7 separate regions of the Homo sapiens genome follow, and all the other regions are linked to region 1. The links are contacts of gene promoters, found by promoter capture Hi-C in human tissues and cell types (Jung and others, 2019). All regions are on one chromosome and are shown on one strand. Each heading gives the region's core, a stretch centred on a gene start or on the middle of the fragment in contact. The rest is flanking DNA. Distances are from core to core; before and after follow the strand shown.

Region 1 (3,100 bases), core at 286-2,785:
CTGCACTCCAGCCTGGGTGACAGAGCGAGACTCCATCTCAAAAAAAAAATAATAATAAATAAAAATACAAAAATCAGCTGGGCATGGTGGCATGCACCTATAATCCCAGCTACTCAGGCAGCTAAGGCAGGAGAATCACTTGAACCCCAGGAAACGGAGGTTTCAGTGAGCCGAGATCACCCCACTGCACTCCAGACTGGGTGACACCATGAGAAAAAAAAAAAAAGGATGATTGAAGGCAGTTTCTACAGACTAGTCTGTCCTGCTTGGAGAATGGGGGAGGCTGCCAGGTGGCTGCAGCAGCTGAAGGCAAAAAGTGTACCATCTTTTTTTTTTTTTCTTCTTTTTTTAAGAGATGGAGAGGCAGGGGGTGGTGGCTCACGCCTATAATCCTAGCACTTTGGGAGGCCGAGGCGGGCAGACCACGAGGTCAGGAGTTCGAGACCAGCCTGGCCAACATGGTGAAACCCTAAATTAAATCTCTACTAAAAATACAAAATTTAGCTGGGCATGGTGGCGGGTGCCTATAATCCCAGCTACTCAGGAGGCTGAGGCAAGAGAATCGTTTGAGCCCGGGAGGCGGAGGTTGCAGTGAGCCAAGATCGTGCCATTGCACTCCAGCATGGGAGACAGGGTGAGACTCTGTCTCAAAAAAAAAAAAAAAAAAAAAAAAGATATAGGTCTCACTGTGTTGCCCAGGATTGTCTCAAACTCCTAGGCTCAAGCAATCCTCCTGTCTTGGCCTCCCAAAGTGCTAGGATTACAGGCATGAGCCACCATTCTTGGCCCAAAGCACACCATCTATGTGGGGTCCTGGCTCTGCCTCTCACAAACTGTGACCTTGAGCCAGTAGATTACTTTGTTAAGCCTTAAATTCCTCATCTGTAAAACAGAGATAAGACCACCCATCTCAGGGGCATTCAACTGTGATAATTTCATTTATTGTCCAAACCAAGTTTACTAATTATTGGGTGGGCTGGGAAGTATGATCCCCTGGGTGAAGGTGGATATGAATGTGATTTAAACACCGTGAAACTCTGTGCATATGTACAGAGTTATTGCTGTTACTGCAGATGCTGGGAAGAGCTGCTCACCTTCTCAGTAACTCTGCCTTGACCTCCCCTTACCTCCTGTGCTGAGGTCAGCCCTCTCTCCTCCACGTGGGCCAATGGTGGCTCCTGCCCTCCAGCCAACATCAGAGAGGCTGGAGGCACCTTGTCTTCCTCCCAGCCCTGCCCATCTCCATGACTGACCTTTTTGCGCACCCTGGACCTTGCCAACCCAAGATGCTCGCTCTAGAGATGAAGGTGGATGCAGATGCTGGGGTTCGGGGGTGGCCTCAGCTGAGGGCCTGCTGACCAACCAAAGGGTATCGGCAGGGGCAGGGGCTGGCCCTCACCCTGGGCTGGGGGTTGGGCCAGCAGCTTCTCAGCACCAGGATCATGACTCTGAGCAAACCATGTTTACCAGAGCAGCAAAGGACCTATTTATAGCCTCAGCTGCTGCTTTCTCTGGCTCACGGTGGCGGGGGCAGGGTGGCTCCTCAGAGCAAGGGAGGTAGTCGGGTCGAGGGAACCTGGCTCTGCCCAGGTGCCACTGCCCAAACCCCTGGGCCCCATCCATGGCAAGAGAGACCTTCCCCTTCACCTCCTCCATGCTGCGCTCTCTCCGCCTGCAGCAGGAGTGGCTGGAATGGGAGGACCGGCGGCGGGCGGCTGCCCAGCAGTGCCGGAGCCGCAGGTGCCCGTCAAGTCCCCGGGCCCGACTCACTAGGCCTCACCGTTCCTGCCGAGACCCAGCTGTCCACCAAGCCCTCTTCTCCGGCAACCTGCAGCAGGTCCAAGCCCTGTTCCAAGATGAAGAGGCCGCCAACATGATTGTGGAGACTGTGAGCAACCAGCTGGCCTGGTCGGCTGAACAGGGTAGGGGGCACCAGAAGAGGGCAGAAGAGGAGGGAGAAAGAAGGGGAGTGGGTGGGGAAGGGGGAGAGTCTAGGCCCCTCCTTCCCTGCAGACCACAGACTATAGCAGCCCTTTCCACCACCTATCCTAGCTCCCTCCTAAACAGAGATGAGGCAGGGTTAGCAGTCTGTATGTCTTTTAAGAATTAAAAGTTGACCGGGCACAGTGGCTCACGCCTGTAATCCCAGCACTTTGGGAGGCCAAGGCAGGCGGATCACGAAGTCAGAAGTTTGAGACCAGCCTGACCAACATGGTAAAACCCCATCTCTACTAAAAATAGAAAAATTAGCCGGGCATGGTGGTGCGCACCTGTAATCCCAGCTACTCAGCAGCTGAGGCAGAAGAATCACTTAAACCCGGGAGGCGGAGCTTGCAGTGAGCCAAGATAGCGCCACTGCATTCCAGCCTGGGGGACAGAGCGAGACCCTGCCTAAAAAAAAAAAAAAAAGAGACAAGGTCTCACTATGTTGCCCAGGCTCATCTCGAACTCCTGAGGTCAAGTGATCATCCCGCCTTGGCCTCCCAAAGTGCTAGGATTACAGGTGTGAGCCACCACCCCAGGCCCCAAGGTGAACAAGCCTTTGACACTATTAGCCATTCAAAGACGCTGAGATTTCCTTAATGGGAGTCACTCTACTTAGTTGGCCCCTGTGGTTTTATACAGCAATTAATTTTTTTATGACACATACTATGTTTTGTTACAGATTGATAAGCTGTATTAAAAGGCTGTTCCAATTTATTCTTCCACTTCAGGACTTGAATAAGCCCCCTTCCACAGGTACAGCCTGGCAGTGTTTGTGCTCAGCAAACCATGCAGAGGGAAGGCCAGTGTCAGCTGTCAGCTGGAACCAGCATCCCCACTCCCTGCCCTGCCCTGTCTTATACACCACCTCCCAAAACTATTTGCTCTCCCTAGGGTTCTGGGTGCTGACCCCCAAGACCAAGCAGACGGCACCCCTCGCCATCGCTACAGCCCGAGGCTACACAGACTGTGCTCGACACCTGATCCGGCAGGGAGCTGAGCTGGATGCCCGTGTCGGGGGTCGCGCTGCCTTGCATGAGGCCTGTGCCCGAGCCCAGTTTGACTGTGTGCGGCTGCTGCTGACCTTCGGAGCCAAGGCTAATGTGCTGACTGAGGA
Region 2 (3,100 bases), core at 316-2,815, 500 kb after region 1:
ACTGAAGAAATAAAGTCTTTAAAACCTAAGTTGTAATTAAATATATTTATTTGTTCTAGGACCTGCTCCTCCAATTTAAAGTCAGTTTGGCCAATGAACACAAGCAGATTTGCAGATCACCATGACCTCTTAACAGAAACCAAAAGGCCAATAGATACAGTCATCTCTCAGCAAGCTTTTTATAGTGATGAATCTGTGTCAGCAATGGAAAAGCAATACCTGCGTAACAGTAATCTCACACCACAACAAAAAATAGATGAACTTCATCATGGATTTACTGGTTTAGATCTTGAAGAACAATGGATGTACCCCTCACGAAGTGATCATTCTAACTGTCACAATATTCAGACAAATGATACAGCTAAGACAACATTCCAAGAATATCCACTTATCAAAAACTGTTTTACACCCCAAACTGGTCTGTCTGATATCATGAAAGAATCAGGAGTTGATATCTACCATTATGGAAGAGACAGAATATGTACTAAAGGTCTTGAAGCACCACTACAGCAAAAAAGGGCAGAGATGTTTCTTTCTCAATTTAATAGATACAATGAAAATGTAGATTATTGTAGATACCCAGAGTATGTTCATCCTAATAAGGCTAAGCTTAATAAATGTTCAAATTTTAGTGTCCAAGATAGCAAAAAATTAGCCAATGGCACACCTGAAACACCAACTGTAGAAGCAGACACCTACACAAAGTTATTTCAGGTTAAGCCAGCGAATCAGAAAAAAATGGAGGAGACAATCCCTGATCAGCAGAATTTCACATTTCCAAAAACTACGCCACATCTGACAGAGAAACAGTTTGCAAAGGAAGCAGTATTCACTGCTGATTTTGGCTTAACATCAGAATATGGACTAAAACCTCACACAGCTTGTCCCGCTAATGATTTTGCTAACGTCACAGAAAAGCAACAGTTTGCTAAACCTGATCCCCCACATTCTGAGTATTTTAAATCAGTGAATTTATTATCAAACTCAGCAACATCTTCAGGAGGTATCAATTTAAACAGACCAACTTGGATGAATGTTCAAACAAAAAATAACACTCCTATTCCTTATCGAAATCAAGGTAACTTGATGAAATTAAATAGTCATTTAAGTGCAGCTTCAAAAGGTTCTAACCATTCTTCAGATTTCCCCCAACTATCATCCACAAACTTAACCCCAAATAGCAATTTATTTCAGAAATATTGCCAAGAAAACCCTTCAGCATTTTCTAGTTTTGATTTTAGTTACAGTGGTGCAGAAAGAATCCAATCTGTCAATCACATAGAAGGACTAACAAAGCCTGGAGAAGAAAATCTCTTCAAATTGGTTACGGATAAAAAAATAAAGCAGCCAAATGGATTTTGTGATAACTATTCAGCTCAGAAGTATGGGATAATTGAAAATGTAAACAAACATAATTTTCAAGCCAAGCCCCAGAGTGGACATTATGATCCTGAGGAAGGTCCAAAGCATTTAGATGGCTTATCACAAAATACATACCAAGATCTACTGGAGTCACAGGGTCATTCTAATAGCCACAGAACGAGAGGTGGAGACAATAGCCGTGTGAATCGCACACAAGTGTCATGCTTTTCTAATAATTATATGATGGGAGATTTAAGGCATAATCAGTGTTTTCAACAACTTGGTTCAAATGGGTTTCCCCTAAGATCCACCCACCCATTTGGCCATTCAGTTGTTCCACTGTTGGATTCCTATGACTTACTTTCTTATGATGACTTAAGCCATTTGTACCCTTATTTTAATATGATGTATGGTGATAATTCTTTTTCTGGTCTCATGCCAACTTTTGGATTTCAAAGACCAATTAAAACCCGTAGTGGACCAGCCAGTGAACTTCATATTCGTCTAGAAGAGTGCTGTGAACAATGGAGAGCATTAGAAAAAGAGAGAAAAAAGGTAACACAAAGTTAACCACTTAGGAATAACAGTATGTTCCTTTTGCCTGTCTTCATTCTGTTTACCTTAGTGTAGTGTAAGAGTACTTGCCTTATTTCTTTTTGCTTTATTTGTTGTTGTTTTAAAGAGACAGAGTCTCGCTCTGTTGCCCAGGCTGGAGTACAGTGGCAGAATCATAGTTTACTGTAACCAAACTCCTGGGCTCAAGCAATCCTTCCTCCTCCTGAGTAGCTAGTACTACAGGCACATGCCACCATGCCTGGCTAATTTTAATTTTTTGTAGACATTAGGTTTCACTATGTTCCCCACGGTGGTCTCAAACCCCTGGCCTCAAGCCATCCTCCCACCTTGATGTCCCAAGTGTTGGCATTACAGATGTGAGCCACTGCACCCGGCTAACTTGCCTTATTTCTGAGCTGAATTCTATAATGTCCAGGATTTGCTGTAAGTTCATTACTGTAAGGAATTAAGTGGGTTACTTAAAAACTAAAAATGGATGGGGTTGGCCAATGGGAAGCTTAAATAAATGAAGATGAAAAATGCTTGACATTTTAAAGTTATTGTTATTCTAAGTTGACTTGCCCTGAAGTAGATTTTTTACCCCCTTAGTTGTTACAAGTTTATTTCTTTGAATTTTGTAGTGTTAACCTGTTGGTATACTCAGGTATTTTATTTGTATTAAGACGATAGCTGGGCGCGGTGGCTCACGCCTGTAATCCCAGCACTTTGGGAGGCCAAGGTGGGCAGATCACAAGGTCAGGAGTTGGAGACCAGCCTGGCCAACATGGTGAAACCCAGTCTCTACTAAAAATACAAAAAATTAGCCAGGCGTGGTGGCAGGCACCTGTAATCCCAGCTACGCGGGAGGCTGAGGCAGGAGAATCGCTTGAACCCGGGAAACGGAGGTTACAGTGAGCCGAGACTGCACCACTGCACTCCAGCCTGGGCAATAGAGTGAGACTCCATCTGAAAAAAAAAAGATAGAAAAATACTGTGGTATTGTGGTTTACATTTGTTGTCTTTTGATACCAAAACAGAATTTTCATTTAAAGTGGTAATACTCTATTTATTAGGCTTACGAAAACTATTATTCATGGTCGAATCATATTTAGAAAATTCTACATCTAAAAAGTATGTAATTTTTTACAGACTGAATTAGCCCTTGCCAAGAATTATCCTGGAA
Region 3 (3,100 bases), core at 438-2,937, 390 kb before region 1:
CTGGACACGGTAGTGAGCACTATGATTCTAATGCTTGATTGTGCTTCTGTGTTTAGACATCCAGACTGTGAGCTCCTTGAGAGAGGAACCATGTCTGCTTTAAGTCTGTTTCCCCACCATCTGCTATAGTACCTGCTACATAGTAGGTGCTGAATAAATAAGCGGTGAATGAGTGCAAAAGAATAAATTTGTCACGTACCAGGCAGCCCCCTCCCTGCCCCCAGAGGGATCCTACCTGCCACATTCCACTGGCTACGTTTCCAAAGCTCTTTTGGGTGATTTAGTACTTGGGGAGTAAGTGGCCCCAACAGAACTATGGGAGGTTACAAAATAATTTATCTAAGGTCGGGTGCAGTGGCTCACACCTGTAATCCCAGCACTCTGGGAAGCCGAGGCAGGTGGATCACCTGTCAGGAGTTCGGGACCAGCCTGGCCAACATGGTGAAACCCCGTCTCTACTAAAAATACAAAAGTGAGCCGGGTGTGGTGGTACATGCCTGTAATCCCAGCTACTCTGGGATTACAGAGGCTGAGACAGGAGAATCACTTGAACCCGGGAGGTGGAGGTTGCAGTGTGCTGAGATTGTGCTATTGCACTCTAGCCTGGGTGACAGAGTGAGACTCCGTCTCGAAAAATAAAATAAAATAAAATAAAAATAATAATTGGTCTGAATGGTGAAAAGGCCCCTTTATTTCATCTCACAAAACATCCCAGTCCAAATAGCAGTTTATACTTTATAAAATGCCACCTCCTGTGTGATCTTGCTTGCCCACTGCGAGCAGCCCTGTGAGGAACAAGGATGGCAATATCCCTGCTTAACAGAGCTTGAACTCAGGCCCAACAGGATGAGCAGAGGGATGGGCACAGGCCCCGTGTGCTGCTGGTGGCAGATCTGGGAGAAGACCTCCTTTCTCCCGACATCCAGCCCTGCTCTATCTTCCACCTCACTCTGCCCCTCATGCCCACATCTGCTGCAAAACCCCCAAGGCCTGGCACATGTGGCTCACACAGGCTCTGGCTCTGCCTTGTGAGGACGTGGCTGCGGCCCTGATTTTGTTAAGGGAATGGAGCCCAAATCCTCTTGGTGCTTGGTGCTCACTGATCCTCCCTGTTGAGGAACCCCCACACCCCTGGCCAAGTCAAGGTCAGAGGTGCTTAGAGGGCAAGGGATGTATTTTCTACAGTGGCCATCAGCAATTGCCACTCTGGCTACACCAGACGTGTACAACCTTGGTTTCCACTTGGGAAGTGATGACAGCTGAATGGCCAACCTGCCCAAGCAAGCGGGATTCCTGAGGCTAACAAGGCCTGCTTGCTGCTTGGTGCAAGAGGAAGGGTGTCTCTAGAGCTTTCCAATTCCTGAAGCCTTTGGCTGACACTGTGGGACTCTGTTTATTCCTGCTTAGGACACCGCGCAAGACTGTGAAGCAGTGGCTGATAGAAAAAAACACTTTGAAGAGTCACTCCCATTCATCTCCCTTCTCTAATACTTTTTTTTTTTGAGATGGAGTTTCGCTCTTGTTGCCCAGTTGGAGTGCAACGGTACGATCTTGGCTCACTGTAACCTCCACCTCCCGTGTTCAAACGATTCTCCTGCCTCAGCCTCCGGAGTAGCTGGGATCACAGGCGCCAGGCACCATGCCCAGCTAATTTTTGTATTTTTAGTAGAGACAGGGTTTCACCATGTTGGTCAGGCTGGTCTCGAACTGCTGACCTCAGGTGACCCACCCGCCTCGGCCTCCCAAAGTGCTGGGATTACAGGCGTGAGCCATCGTGCCAGGCCTCTAATACTATTAATAATTCAACATTCAAAAAATTTACAATTATCATTATTACTATCTCTACTATGAATGAACATTGTACAGTGCCTGACATAAAGCAGGTGCTCAGACTGGTGAATGAATGATGGAATGGATGAGAACTGTCCCCATGAGGCTGGGGCCTGATGGACCCCTTCTAGTTCCATGATGACCCCCATTTCCGTGGCAGTCCTTGGCAGGCTAAACAGCAGGTCATAGCGGAGGTCAGGAAATACATACATGAACAAGACATTGACCCTGTCCTTGTAGTCCCTCACACACTCTGAGCCACCATTTCCTCCTCTGTAAAATGGGAGGAGGGTTAGTTTTGAGTTTTCAACATGCCATCCTTGGGCTGAGCCATGAAGCTTAGGATTTTGGTAACTGGGTCCTCAGAGTATCGTGAAAATCCAACTTGAGGCTTTCCAAGGCTGTACAGGCATGCTAATATATTCTTTCTTGAGGCTCCTATTTCACATCTCAGAATGTTAACACTGGTTCTTTCCTGCTGATTAGACATTCTTACTAGAAAAAAAATTTAAAATTTAAATTAAAAAAAATCTCTTACTGTCCGGGTGCGGTGGCTCACGCCTGTAATCCCAGCACTTTTGGAGGCCGAGGTGGGCGGATCATGAGGTCAGGAGTTTGAGACCAGCCTGGCCAAGAGACCAGCCTGGCCAATATGGTGAAACCCCGTCTCTACTAAAAATACAAAAAGTAGCCAGGCGTGGTGGCGGGCGCCTGTAATCCCAGCTACTCGGGAGGCTGAGGCAGGAGAATTGCTTGAACCCAGGAGGCAGAGGTTGCAGTGAGCCGAGATCTCGCCATTGCACTCCAGCCTGGGTGACAGAGCCTGGGGGTGAAAGGTCAAGAGCCTTTTCTAGGTGGTGGCTCAGGTCCTTAGGGGGGTTATCACTGGACCGTTCTAGAATCTCCTGTAAATCAAATCACATCTGGAAGGTGGGGGCCTGGAAATCCCGGCCCAGCTCCCCGGACTCGCTCATTTGGGGTGTTTAGGTTCCCTGATCCGGGACTGCCGGGCCGGGAAAATTCCATGCCCGAATTGTGACGTCGGCCCGTTGCCATGGCGGCGAAGGCAGACATTCCGCGGTGACCTCACTGCAGAACCAGGCAGCTGTCACATGACGCGCGGGCAGGAGACCGGCCGGGCGACCGAGGGTCACCTGTTAAGTGAACATGGTAGCCCCGACCCCGCCCAAGGCCAAGCCCCAAGCGGGTGGCGGCTGGGACCCGGGCAGGCGCCACCCGGGCTCCGTGCACCCCGCCACGGGGAAGGGCC
Region 4 (3,100 bases), core at 189-2,688, 340 kb before region 1:
GGATTCCACTCAAGGCACTTAGTACACAGTAAGCACTCAACATATGTTAACCACTTATTAGTGGCTGTAACTGCAAACACATTTGCACACTTATTGTTAACATCATCTGTGCCATCTATTTGAAGTACGTAAGATAATTATTGCTAGAAAGAGAGGCCATCAGCTAAGAACCTCAGGACTTCTAGCCCCCCAGAACTGAGAACTTTCCAGCATCGCTATCCATCATTTATTCAGCTCTGAACCGCCAGCACCCAATACAGAGCCTGGATAGGAGGGCTCACAATGTGTTTGCTAAATCAATGGATGGCCACTCCATTTTACAAGTGAGGAAACAGAGGCAGAGGAGAGATCCTCGTCTGTTTGCAGAAGAGGCTCGTCGGAGGTCATTTGGGGAAAGTTGGAAATAGAGAATGCCAGCTGTGGGATCCTCTGGAGCCAATCTCAATTCTCTGGGCTTCCACCACTTCTGAGCATCTCATAAACAACGCTGTCCCTTTGCTCGGTAAATCAATGCTGAACCAGGACCAAAGTGATAGCAGTCTGTCTGCTGGGGAGAGGAATGCCCTGTGCTTCCTCAACATTCAGAGCAGGCATTGTCACACGTTTTCTATAAGGGGCCACATGTAAATATTTGAGGCCAGCCACACAGTCTCTGTCACAACGACTCAACTCTGCCATCGCACTATAAAGGCAGCCACAGCCAATCTGTAAGTGAATGGGCCTGGTTGTGCTCCAAAAAAGCTTTATTTTAAAAAATAAGCTGTGGGCTGGTTTTGGCCCTTGGGCTGTAGTTTGTCCATTTCTGGCTTAAAGCATGATCAGGGTCACCCTGTACAATTGTGCAGGTTATTAACTACACAAAGGGTGTTGGCCACAGTTGAGAGGGGCTGTATCCACCTAGAGAAAGGGGTGCCCTGCACACAGAGGCACCACAGGGATGAGCAGCAGCGCAGGCAAAGCTGCCGTCACTCACTCTGAAGACTTCGGGGAGGATCTTGTCCAGTGTTCTGGGTGGGGGTGAGAGGCAGGGGAAGAGTGGGTTAGAGAGGGGCAGGCAGCAGCACCTACCAGGGGTTCCTTGTTCTTCACCAAGCGGACGATCTTCACCGATTCCTCATCAAAATCCTCATCGATATTGTCAGGCAGAGGCGGGAGAACGGGGTCAAAATTCTTCTGGGCAACCGTGTCATGTACCATGAGCACAGCCTGCCGGGAAAGCCAGAGAAAAGGAAGGCTGGCCCGCCGCTCACAGGGTCAGCAGGCCGCAGCTGGCCGGTGGTATGGAGGGTGGCAGACGCCATGCCAGAGAGACAACTGCCCAGACACTAGTGCTGAGGATCGCTCCCTCAGTCTCCACTCCTCAGCCTCATTAGGAGAGCTCCCTCCGCCCCCATCCCAGGAGACCCAGAGGCATGGCTGGGCAGGGGCTCTGTGTGACTACCCTCAGGTGCGGGGTGGACAGCAGCTGGAGCAGCTCCCTCTCATCACTGTGCACGGAGGCGGCCTGCAACTCCTCCATCACCTGCAGAGAATGAGACAGGCGCCACTGATGGCTAGAGGTGCCCCTGCCCCATATCTGCTGGGTCCTTCCTCTTTGGAAGGGCCCACCCAGCTGCAGCCCCCAGGGGCACACCAGACCCTCAACCACCCGACGACGATGATCCTGGGAACATCACACCAGGGGTCAGGAGCAGCTCTATGGGGCCATCCTCCAAGGAGCCACCGTTTTAAGCCCTACGTGCTTTCTGCTTTATGTGGATCTTCTCACTGAACCCTCGCAACCAACTTGATGCAGAGGGTCTTGTTACTTTGCCATTTTACAGATGAGAATCCTGAGACTCAAAGAGATTAAACATTTTGCCCGAAGTCACAGAGCTCATATACAGCACAGCTAGGATTTGAACCTGGGCTTATCTGGCTCTCAGATGCTATTTTATGAATGAGGAAATGGGAGCTCAGAGAGGTTGAGTGGCCTACTTAACATCACAGAGCTGGTGGGACAGGCAGCGCTGAGCCTGGGAGCCAGGCAATCTAATGTGCCCCTAATCACATTCCACAGTGGAGAAGGGCCCAGGGCTCTGCACCCACAAGCTGCACTCATCCCTCCCCAGGCCATCTCCTGGGGTTAGGTGAGTTTATTCAGGAACTGATCTTAGTAATCAACCAGAATGGGTTTTCCCCAACCACGCAACATAGACGACTAGGTCCACAAGAAATTAAGAAGCGTTCCTTTAAAAAATGAGAAGCCTGAGCCAGTATGCGGGGACACACTGTAGGTCCCTTGACTTCAGGAAAGCACAGACATAATGTCTTATTGACCTATTCAAATCACCAGTCCTCAGGGCAGTTTGGGAACTGCTGAGCCAATCCAATGCTCTCATTTACAGCAGAGGAAGCAGACTTGCTAAAGAACACACAGTAAGTGGGCAGCTCCATGTCACAGTGTCTCCCAGCCCAGTCCAAGGCTCACGGGTTCCTCCCTACCTTTCGGGGAACCCAGAGAGAGGAAGAGAAGGAGGAGGACAAGGGAAGAAAACACCTCTTCACCTTTGGGCTCCTGATTCCCGGTGTCCCCACACTAAGCAAGCGAGGCAAGATGAAGGAGCCCTACAGGGTGGGGAGTGGGGCAGACACTGTAAGGAGAAACCTGGGGCTTACGTCCTCAGCGAGGGCCACAGCGCTGTGCAGAACTGGGGTTGGACTTTGCCTTTCATAATAGCGAAGCTTCTCATGAATCTGCAAAGACAGAGTATTTCAGATGCACCCTGGACACCACACATCCCACCCACGGCTGTGGGGACATTTGGGGCAGCAGACTGGGCCACTGACAGGGCACCATAAGAGAAAGTCCTGTGTAGTGGGCAAGTGAAGGCCTTCCTGGGGCAGGGAGATGACTAGGATGACCTCAGACGGCCACAGACAGCTAGAAAGACCTCTAGACACCCTTCCACGCAGGATGACGTGGGACTTCACCTTCATTAAGTAACTGAGGCTTTTTTCACTGAAAACATCCCTCAGGAAGCCCATCTCCTCCTTGTGGTTGGAGTCAGGTCTGAGCTGGGAGGTCAGCAGGGCCAGGGTTTCATGCAAACCTGGGGAG
Region 5 (3,100 bases), core at 166-2,665, 330 kb after region 1:
TGGTGAATCTGCATTATATCCTTAGAACATCCTGAGACTCTCCTGTATTGTGCTGCAGCTATACAGCAGGCGCATGATCACAAGGCTTTTTAACAGCCCCCAGATCCCTTACTGCTGCAAAACTTCTCATAAGCGTTCTATGTACTAGACTGTTAACAGTGCTGAGTTAAAATTGTTAAACTGCTTTACCTATTTATTTACCAATCCTATCATCTCAGGGAATTCAAACTCTTTAAACTGCCTTCTGAAACACATCTAGAGTGCTTTCGTACTGCTTTGAGTAGGATCTGCAGCGGGATAAAAACTTGAGTTCTGAGATTCATCCCGACCCAAATTGCAGTTGCCAGGATATGCGGTAGTAATGCAGTGTTTTTTTTTTTTTTTTGAGACTCTACGGATGTATTTTACCTAGAAATAGCCAATCTCTACTAAATCCCTTTTAGTCTTCGAGATTTCCGCGGTAACAATTTCAACAGAAAGGTATTTTCAACAGCGAAAAAACAAGTTATTCTAATTTGGCCTTTATTTTTTACTCAATAGAGCTTGCCATCGTAAGGGCATTTTTCCATACTAACATTTGCAATTGAAGAAAGAAAAATCAAGCTTTTGGCACTAGTGACCCCATGCGTGGACGGCCTATTATCATCACGCTTCTCACAAATCTTTCGAGATAGGATTTGAGGTTAGGCTCACATCGGATCATAGTCCAGTAACTTACTGCTTTCCAAGCCCAATTAACAGCCTAATAACAGCAACACTTATGCCCCGCGAAATCTCAATGTATGACTAACCAATAAGGCGTCTGATAGCGAAGGCAACCTTTTCCCAGGTAAGGAAGAGGAAAAGCAGACAATGAAAGGAATTGATTTATCACAGTGAAGAAAGAAAAGAGAAGGACCCCAAAAGGATCCGTGAGAGCAAAATCCCGGGGTTCGGAAGCCTTGGCCTCAGCAATACTCTCCCCCAAGCCCTCTCAGCCCAACCCAACCACCCCTCTTGTCCCCTGGGAGCCAGCCCTTCGCCGGCACAGATCGGGCAGACCTGGAGGGCACAGCCCCTCACACGGCGCTCAGGCCCGGTTCCGAAATCCGATGCCAAACAGGCGGAAGCCGCAAGCCCCGCGGCCTGAGTTTCAGGGGTAAGAGAATGCGGGTGCGAGGAGATGCGGCCTCCCTCAAGCCGGGAGGCCTCTTGAGAAAGCAGAGACGGGAGAAGAGCGAGCTGGTTCGCAAGTCGGAGCAAAACTGGAAGGAAAGAGGGCTGGGAGCCGGAGATGAAGGAGGTTCTGGGCTAGACCAGCGCCTTCCCCGCATCCTCGGCGACGCCCGTGTTTACCTGAAAGTCTCGGTCTTCGTTGAAGCGGGAGAAGCGGTCCGCCATTTTGCCGCCTTCACTCCTCTCAGGACGACGCTCTCCGGTTCGCTCCTTCCCTCCTGCGACACCCACCCCTCCCCGGTTCCCCGCCTCCTCCCACGCCCACCGGGCGCGCGCAGCCGAGGGAGGGAGCGAGAATGCGCGTCCTGACGGGAGCCCCGCGGCGCAGGCGCCTGCCAGCCCTGGAGGCTGACCCTTCCCTCTAGCCCCTGCTCCGCGCGCGACCCGGAGCGACCCCGGTGGCCGCGCGTGCGCACTCCCGCCCGAGAGCCGCGAGAGCTTCCGGAGGGAAAGGTCAGAGGGGGCACCGTGCGGACAAATCTGGATGTTTTGCTGTTGCTCACTTCCGGGTGTCTTTTCTCACTGTTGCTTCCCCGTGTGCGCAGAAGTCCATCGTCTTCACTAAATAGCAGCATAATGTTGGGCCGAAAGCGCGACCTTAGAGCCAGACTGCTTAGCTTCGAATCTCAGCTCACCCTGAGGATTCAACGGTGAACGAGACAGGAATGATCTCCTCTTATGGGGATTTCATTCCAGTGGAAGAACTCACATAACTCGTAAAATAAATATTTTTAAATATCAACAAGTGCCACAAAAAAGTAAAACTGGCCACAGTGCTGAGAGGGACAGTCTCTGAAAGGACCTTTGACCGAGGCACAGCGAGGAGCCTACAGCATTGGGGCATAGGGAACGTTAGACCCAAAGGCCCAAAGACTGCAAGGAGCTTGACTTCGAGCCATCCTTTGAGAGAAGTATTTCACAAGGGACCGAAGTTGATCCAGATCGACTAAAGCTCTCTGGGCTTCAGTTTCCTTTTTATACAATAGGGAAATTGGATTCAGTAATCTCTGATGCTCCTGCCTAGCGCTGACTATGAGAGTCAAGAATCGGATTTTTCCATCCCTTCTGAGGACCTCACCCAGTGCTCCAGGACTCTTAGCCAAAATACATAAAACACATAGAAGGGTGGCAGGACTTCTCTCCTTTTGAAAAGAGTAGTTGACAGAAATCACACAATGGAAAAATGGGTCTTACCCTGCCCTGAAAGAGTCAAATGGAATGTAATTTTTTGAGGAAGGGTGTGTATTTTCTAGCTGTTACCCTTTGCCCCACCCATGCTTCAGCCTACGCTTCCATCTAAGGGGAGGCAGGGCACACAGAATTCAAACATTGTATTCTTTTTTTTTTTTTTTTTTTGAGACGGAGTCTCGCACTGTCGCCGGAGTACAGTGGCGCAATCTCGGCTCACTGCAACCTCCGCCTCCCAGGTTCAAGAGATTCTCCTGCCTCAGCCACCCTAGTAGCTGGGATTACAGGCGCCCACCACTAAGCCCAGCTCATTTGTTTTTTTTTTTTTTTGAAAAGGAGTCTCACTCTGTCGCCCAGGCTGGAGTGCAGTGGCGCGATCTCGGCTCACTGCAAGCTCCGCCTTCCGGGTTCACGCCATTCTCCTGCCTCAGCCTCCCGAGTAGCTGGGACTACAGGCGCCCGCCACCAAGCCCGGCTAATTTTTTGTATTTTTAGTAGAGACGGGGTTTCACCGTGTTAGCCAGGCTGGTCTCGATCTCCTGACCTCGTGATCCGCCTGCCTCGGCCTCCCAAAATGCTGGAATTACAGGCGTGAGCCACCTCGCCCGGACTTTTTTTTTTTTTTTTTTTTTTGTATTTTTAGTGGAGGCGGGGTTCACCATGTTGGCAAGGCTGGTCTGGAACTCCTGACCTTGTG
Region 6 (3,100 bases), core at 242-2,741, 300 kb after region 1:
GAGTGGATTGTAAGCTTTGCTGATTGTGTATTAAAGACTATAAGCAAGAACCAATGCTACTAGGTGAACCCATGCAAACAAGTTGTAAAAATTCCCGAAACAAAAAAACTCTATAGCTCACTACAGATGACACAATGAAGACTAGAGAGAAAAGCCATATAGTAATGCTACACCATTCAGCTCCAAGAAGCACATTATTTCTAGTGCAGTCCACATATGGTCACTGCTAAATGTCAAATCAGCAGTCTTATAAAGAATTACAGTTTGGAACTAGTGGAGTCCACAGATCTAGACAGATATGCAACATCACAAAACCCAATTATACATATACTTCCAAATCCTTAAGATGCGCAAACTAAACATCAGCAACTGGAGTTTGAAGCTTACACTACATTTTTAAACCTATTAGGTCATCCTGACAACCATAAAGAAAGAATTTTAATCAGTCAGGTAGAGCAAGGACCGACTAGCGGCTGATGGGTAGTTGCACTTCCAACCACAACAGTAACAACATGTTTTAAGTCTATGATGCATGCATTCTGCCTTCTATATAGCTTAAAGTCATTCTCCCATCTGATCCCTCATCTTTTTTTGTTTGTTTGTTTTTGGAGATCGAGTCTCGCTCTGTCACCCAGGCTGGAGTGCAGTGGCACGATCTTGGGTTCAAGCGATTCTCCTGCCTCAGCCTCCTGAGTAGCTGGGACTACAGGCGTGTGCCACCACACCCGGCTAAGTTTTGTATTTTTAGTAGACATGGGGTTTCACCGTGTTAGCCAGAATGGTCTATCTCCTGACCCTGTGATCCACCCACCTCGGCCTCCCAAAGTGCTGGGATTATAGGTGTGAGCCACTGCACCCAGCGCTTTTTTTTTTTTTTTTTTTTGAGACGGAGTCTCGCTCTGTCACCCAGGCTGGAGTACAGTGGCGTGATCTCGACTCACTGCAACCTCTGCCTCCCAGGTTCAAGCAATCCTCCTGCCTCAGCCTCCTGAGTAGCTGGGTAATCCCAGCACATGCACAGGCATGTGCCACCACGTCTGGCTACTTTTTGTATTTTTAGTAGAGACAGGGTTTCACCATGTTGGTCAGGCTGTTCTCGAACTCCTGACCTCGTCATCTGCCCGCCTCAGCATCCCAAAGTGCTGGGATTACAGGCGTGAGCCCCTGCGCCCAATTCCTCATCTTCTAACTATGATAAAGGTCATAAAGGACCGTGTATCCTAAAAAACACCAATTAATTCTTCTGTGATTGAATCCTAGACGGAGCTATGGCTTTAGATCAAGCTTTGTTTTGTAAATATTTTGTCTTTAAGTAAGTGGAGGTTATAATTATAACATTTGAGACCTAAATATCTCATAAAGCAATAACAATTTTTAAAATTCAAATTCAAAGCTTCTCGTAATAGGGATAAAATGTTCACACTTTTCAACTTGTTTTTAATAGAGATAATCAAGTTGTTTAGCAATTCTCATATAATTTTCTTAAAAAGATATTTCATTCTTGAGGAAAAATCTCATTGAAAGATATCTGGTTGGTTGAAGCAAATAAGGGAAAATTAAACTTCAAAAAATATTATTAAATGCTTTACAAATACTGGATTTTGATATATTTTCAACATTTACCTAATAAAATTGAAATACCAATATCTCACTAACAAATCTAAGCTTCGGAAGTTCACTAAAAGCATAATACATTATTGCATCTTCATGTCTCATTTCCCATCTTGCTGGTTTGCATCAAATTTAGCCTACTACAAAATAAAAAGACCTTAATCCTATACTCACAATAACCCTTCACACAGGCATATTCTTGGCACAAACCTGTGCAGAGACCTCCACGGTTACCAGCTGCTGCAGATTACCTTTGGTTAAAAAAAAATGACTAGACCTTTAGCTCCTGCAATGATCTGTAGACTCCCAAAGCTGCATATTTTCAGCCACTTTTGAGTTGCATGCTGTAGCAAAACAGTCAGCACCTCTCAATAGATATTGCTGCAGAGAAAGATTTTAATTCAGCACTCTTTCTGTGTTAGAAGTAACACCATTTTCCCCTAAAAACAAAACAGCTTAATATAGCCAGCCAGCCATGTAATTAAATATTTACTTATTATTTAGTGGGCATTCCTCAGGTGATAAGGGACTTCTTTTGTTTGGTGGGAGGGAGGGAACACTACCTACTTTGATGCCAATCACTGTAGGAGTTTCTCTTAAAACTTAAAATTTTCTGTGACCAAAAAAAGTAAAAAAAAAAAAAAAAAGTTGAAAAAAGAGAAAAACACTTAAAATTTTACTCACAAATGATCAGGCAACAGAAATAAGATCCCTCTTATCTTGTGTGTCAATACTTCTTTTTTTTTTTCTTATTTTTTCTTGCATCTTTGTTTATTCTCCCAGATCCTGTGCCCTACTTCTACCTAATACAATGTAGGCCATGAAGTTCTCTCCTACAACCTAAACTATCTCATCACAAATAATGCATATATTTATCTTTCAGAAGTAAATTTTCATTAGAAGTGTAATTACTAATATACATTTCTGAACATTCATTTATTTAAAAAAATTAAATATCCAGCCTGAGTACTATATACTATTTGCTATTTTAAGTGAAGAAGGTAGCACTACTTAATAAATAAGGCATATTATCAATTCTACTCCCACTGAATGAGATTATTCAACAATGATTACTCAATTAGACTGCCTTCTGATACTGTTCTCGCTATATGTGGCAGAAAAAGTCCTGGACATTATGAGAGGTAAAATAGCATTAGCCTCATGTGCCATAGGAATGAAATTTCCAAAAATATTTCAGTGTAGCCCTCTAGGCTTAAAATATGTTAAATATCATTTAATTTAGTGGTTTAAAAAATATTTGTTAAGTATCGTAATAATGAATACTAGGTTGCAAATTTCATCTAAATTTACTGCTACTGTTGAGTATCCACAGAATTATAGCTTGTGTAAGACAATTAACCAACCATGCACCTTGTAGAATGTGGTACTGGGGAGCTGATTCTGACAGCTCTGTCTTAAACTTAGACCCTCCTGGTTTTTTTTGTTTTTGTTTTTTTATTTGTTTGTTTTTGAGATGGAGTCTCGCTCT
Region 7 (3,100 bases), core at 351-2,850, 270 kb after region 1:
GACAAAAATAAAATAAAATAAAATAATATATATATACACATATATATGTGTGTATATGTATACGTATATATATACATATATATATATATAGAGAGAGAGAGAGAGAGAGAAGGAGAGAGAGAAAGAGAGTTTCTACTATATTCAAGGCACTGTTCTGGGCACTGCATATAGTGATGATGTAAAAAAAAAAAAAAACACCACAACCGCAGCACCACGTTCCATGAATTACCAATAAATAGGCAAAATAGAGTAATCTGACCAGCTGGAACTTCAGCTGAGAATGAGAGAAAACAGAACATTTGTGAAGCTAATGCATAAGCAGTTAAAAAAGCTTAAAAATGTCTGAAGTTGTCTTTTAAAGATATCTAAAGTTGTCTTTAAAGACGACCTTAATGAAGTGCAAGTAAATATAAAAGCCATCAAAAAGTCACAAAATCCATGTTTTTTTTGAGACAGGATCTTGCTAAGTCACCCAGGCTGGAGTGCTGTGGTGCCATCTCCGCTCACTGTAAATTCCAGCTTCCAGGCTCAAGCAATTCTTGCCTCTAGGCCTCCTGAGTAGCTGACACTACAAGTGCCTGCCACTACATCTGGCTAATTTTTGTATTTTTAGTAGAGATGGGGTTTCACCATATTGCTCAGGCTGGTCTCAAACTCCTGGGCTTGAGTGATCTGCTCACCTCAGCCTCCAAAGTGCTGGGATTACAGGTGTAAGCCAATGAGCCCGGCCTAAAATCCACTTTCAAAAGACAATTAAAACTGGGCTGGGCTTGGTGGCTCACGCCTGTAATCCCAGCACTTGGGGAGGCCAAGGCAGGAAGATGCCTTGAGGACAGGAGTTTGAGACCATACTGGGCAATAGAGCAAGACTCTGTCTCTCCAAAAAATTTTTCTTAAAAAAATTAGCTGGGCATGGTGGCATGCACCTGCAGTCCTAGCCACTGAAAATATTGAGGCAGAAGGACCACTTGAGCCCAGGAGCTGGAGTGAGCTATCATCGCACCACTGCACTCCAGCCTGGGTGACAGAGAAAAACCTTGTCGAAAAAGAGAAAAGAGGGGAAAAAAGACCATTAAACTGATAAAGGCCAAGAACCTACACTGACATCTTTAAAGTACTTATTTCTTCTTTTTAAGTAATGCAAATACATATGTGAAAATCAAGATAAAAAAAATTACGCAGGTGATTCTCTGATTTGCAAAAGTATTCAAAATAGGATTCAAGTCATGTTAATGGACTTAAATATCATTTCATTTATTGAAACTGTGATCACATGAAACTTTCAGAAACACTGAATAAAAAATGGTACATTTATTTCCAAACCAAAGCTTAATTTTTGCAAATTTCTCCTGAAAATGAGTCTTTAGGTGGCATAGAAACAATTATTACTTTCAGCATCGTTTAGATATTTTTCTAAGCAACTCTAACATATGATATATGCTACCTCTCAGAAAACATTAACTGAAAACATTGAGCACATTACTTAATCCCTAGAGAGTTTTTAAGGTTTAAAAAAAAAGGAAAAACTTTCTACCCAAAATAGAGTTCAAATTATCCAGTACTACAAAAACCTACTATATTCTTGCCATGGCCTTTTTAGTGACCTATACAACAACCAAATTAATTTGATTTTTTTCTTCCTTTATTTATTTTTTAAAACAGGGTCTCACCATCGCCCAGGCTGGAGTGCAGTGGCATAACCACGGCTCACTGCAGCCTCAACCTCCTGGGCTCAAGTAATCCTCCCATCTCAGCTTCCTAAGAAGCTGGGACTACAGGTGCACACCACCACATGTGGCTAATTCTTGTTATTTTTTGTAGAGACGGGATTTCACCATGTTGCCCGCCCAGTTTGTTCTTGAACTTCTGAGCTCAAGCAATTTGCCCACTTTGGCCCCACAAGGTGCTGGGATTACAGACATGAGCCATGGTGCCTGGCCAATTTGATTTTCAAATACAGATGTTTTCTAAGGCACACAAGTTTAATTATGACCTAAACGAATTTCCATCTGATACTTTCCATCTAGGATAAAATAGTTCAATTTTAATCATATAACTAAATATATTAATAAACAGGAACAAAGGTGGGGCAAAAGGCTTTAGTGAAAGTGTTGTTAAATCAGAATGTTAGGCCTGGGAAGGATATCTCATCCAGGGATAACATGATATCCTCAAGCCCTTAGAAGAGATAATAAAGAGAATTCATGAGTTACTTTCAATTAAAAAAAAAAAACCTAAAGAAAATCATACTTTTACATGAGATACAACTGTTTTAGCTAAAATTATACTGACTCACTAAAGATTGCCTCAAGCTAACCACCATGCTAAGATCAATTTGTTTTTTCAAATGGGAAAGCCAAATTAATAAATACAATTTTGGGGTAAAATAGTCTAAAACATGGGGCTGAGGAGATACGGAAAAAAACAGTTAAGTCTTTAGTTTAAAGAAAAAAAAAAGGCCAGGCATGGTGGCTCACGGCTGTAATCCCAGCACTGTGGGAGGCCAAGGCAGGCAGACTACTTGAGGTCAGGAGGTCGAGATCAGCCTGGCCAACATGGCAAAACCTCGTCTGCATTTAAAATACAAAAATTAGCTGGGCGTGGTGGCATGTTCCTGTAATCCCAGCTACTTGGGAGGCTGAGGCAGGAGAATCACTTGAAACTGGGAGGCAGAAGTTGCAGTGAGCCGAGATCACACCATTGCACTCCAGTCTGGGGCAACAAGAGAGAATCTCCATCTCACGGGGGGAAAAAAAGTGGTAGCACTTTTGTGCCCTGAGTTTTACTTATGTTTATATCCATATCTGACACAGTATGTAGGCCAGAATGGCATTTAGTTAAAAAGCATTTGTTGACTCAGAGAATGAACATGTTCGTAGCGGGTCTGAAACTTGTTCAACTGTAAATACTTAGTCATCATGATGCGCGCCGCTTAACATCACAAGATACTAATGATTTAACTCTCATAATCAAGGAATTATTTTATCAAGTAGAACATATCACTATATTAGAAAGGTCTCCATATATCAAAAAATATGTAAACTTTTATAATGAAATATTTGAGTTTTACATTACTGGTCATTAGAGCCTTAAGGCTTGT

Evidence for each region. Contacts are between HindIII fragments. The study calls those that stand out against the background at their distance.
Region 2: a fragment that was not itself captured here is called in contact with the fragment with the promoter of ASB16 in region 1 in 1 of the 25 tissues and cell types used here (dorsolateral prefrontal cortex).
Region 3: a contact is called between a fragment that was not itself captured here and the fragment with the promoter of ASB16 in region 1, in 1 of the 25 tissues and cell types used here (dorsolateral prefrontal cortex).
Region 4: a fragment that was not itself captured here is called in contact with the fragment with the promoter of ASB16 in region 1 in 1 of the 25 tissues and cell types used here (IMR-90 fibroblasts).
Region 5: the fragment with the promoter of GPATCH8 here is called in contact with the fragment with the promoter of ASB16 in region 1 in 1 of the 25 tissues and cell types used here (lymphoblastoid cells).
Region 6: a contact is called between a fragment that was not itself captured here and the fragment with the promoter of ASB16 in region 1, in 1 of the 25 tissues and cell types used here (dorsolateral prefrontal cortex).
Region 7: a fragment that was not itself captured here is called in contact with the fragment with the promoter of ASB16 in region 1 in 1 of the 25 tissues and cell types used here (lymphoblastoid cells).

The regions. Positions count from the first base shown.
Region 1 is chr17:44,169,169-44,172,268 of GRCh38, forward strand. It overlaps ASB16 (ankyrin repeat and SOCS box containing 16), which reads left to right and starts at 1,536. Exons shown (of 5, transcript NM_080863.5): 1 at 1,536-1,922; 2 at 2,878-3,100. The coding sequence starts at 1,622. The HindIII fragment of the contact is 17,920 bases long and covers 1,143-3,100 here.
Region 2 is chr17:44,666,317-44,669,416 of GRCh38, forward strand. MEIOC (meiosis specific with coiled-coil domain) reads left to right here. Exons shown (of 8, transcript NM_001145080.3): 5 at 60-1,917; 6 at 3,067-3,100. Among named protein-coding and RNA genes, the nearest start is that of MEIOC, 11 kb to the left of the region's middle. The HindIII fragment of the contact is 5,508 bases long and covers 1-3,100 here.
Region 3 is chr17:43,775,489-43,778,588 of GRCh38, forward strand. The region is part of intron 1 of DUSP3 (dual specificity phosphatase 3); the gene reads right to left. Among named protein-coding and RNA genes, the nearest start is that of DUSP3, 1.9 kb to the right of the region's middle. RefSeq lists an enhancer at 2,753-3,047 and a silencer at 2,980-3,100. The HindIII fragment of the contact is 3,547 bases long and covers 1-3,100 here.
Region 4 is chr17:43,828,586-43,831,685 of GRCh38, forward strand. It overlaps MPP3 (MAGUK p55 scaffold protein 3), which reads right to left. Exons shown (of 20, transcript NM_001932.6): 4 at 2,974-3,092; 5 at 2,659-2,736; 6 at 1,442-1,522; 7 at 1,069-1,206. Among named protein-coding and RNA genes, the nearest start is that of MPP3, 3.0 kb to the right of the region's middle. The HindIII fragment of the contact is 3,501 bases long and covers 1-3,100 here.
Region 5 is chr17:44,501,991-44,505,090 of GRCh38, forward strand. GPATCH8 (G-patch domain containing 8) reads right to left here and starts at 1,416. Exons shown (of 8, transcript NM_001002909.4): 1 at 1,336-1,416. The coding sequence starts at 1,380. RefSeq lists an enhancer at 1,150-1,249 and a silencer at 1,350-1,699. The HindIII fragment of the contact is 22,919 bases long and covers 1-3,100 here.
Region 6 is chr17:44,469,632-44,472,731 of GRCh38, forward strand. The region is part of intron 2 of GPATCH8 (G-patch domain containing 8); the gene reads right to left. Among named protein-coding and RNA genes, the nearest start is that of GPATCH8, 32 kb to the right of the region's middle. The HindIII fragment of the contact is 3,729 bases long and covers 1-3,100 here.
Region 7 is chr17:44,442,034-44,445,133 of GRCh38, forward strand. The region is part of intron 3 of GPATCH8 (G-patch domain containing 8); the gene reads right to left. Among named protein-coding and RNA genes, the nearest start is that of ITGA2B, 54 kb to the left of the region's middle. The HindIII fragment of the contact is 3,607 bases long and covers 1-3,100 here.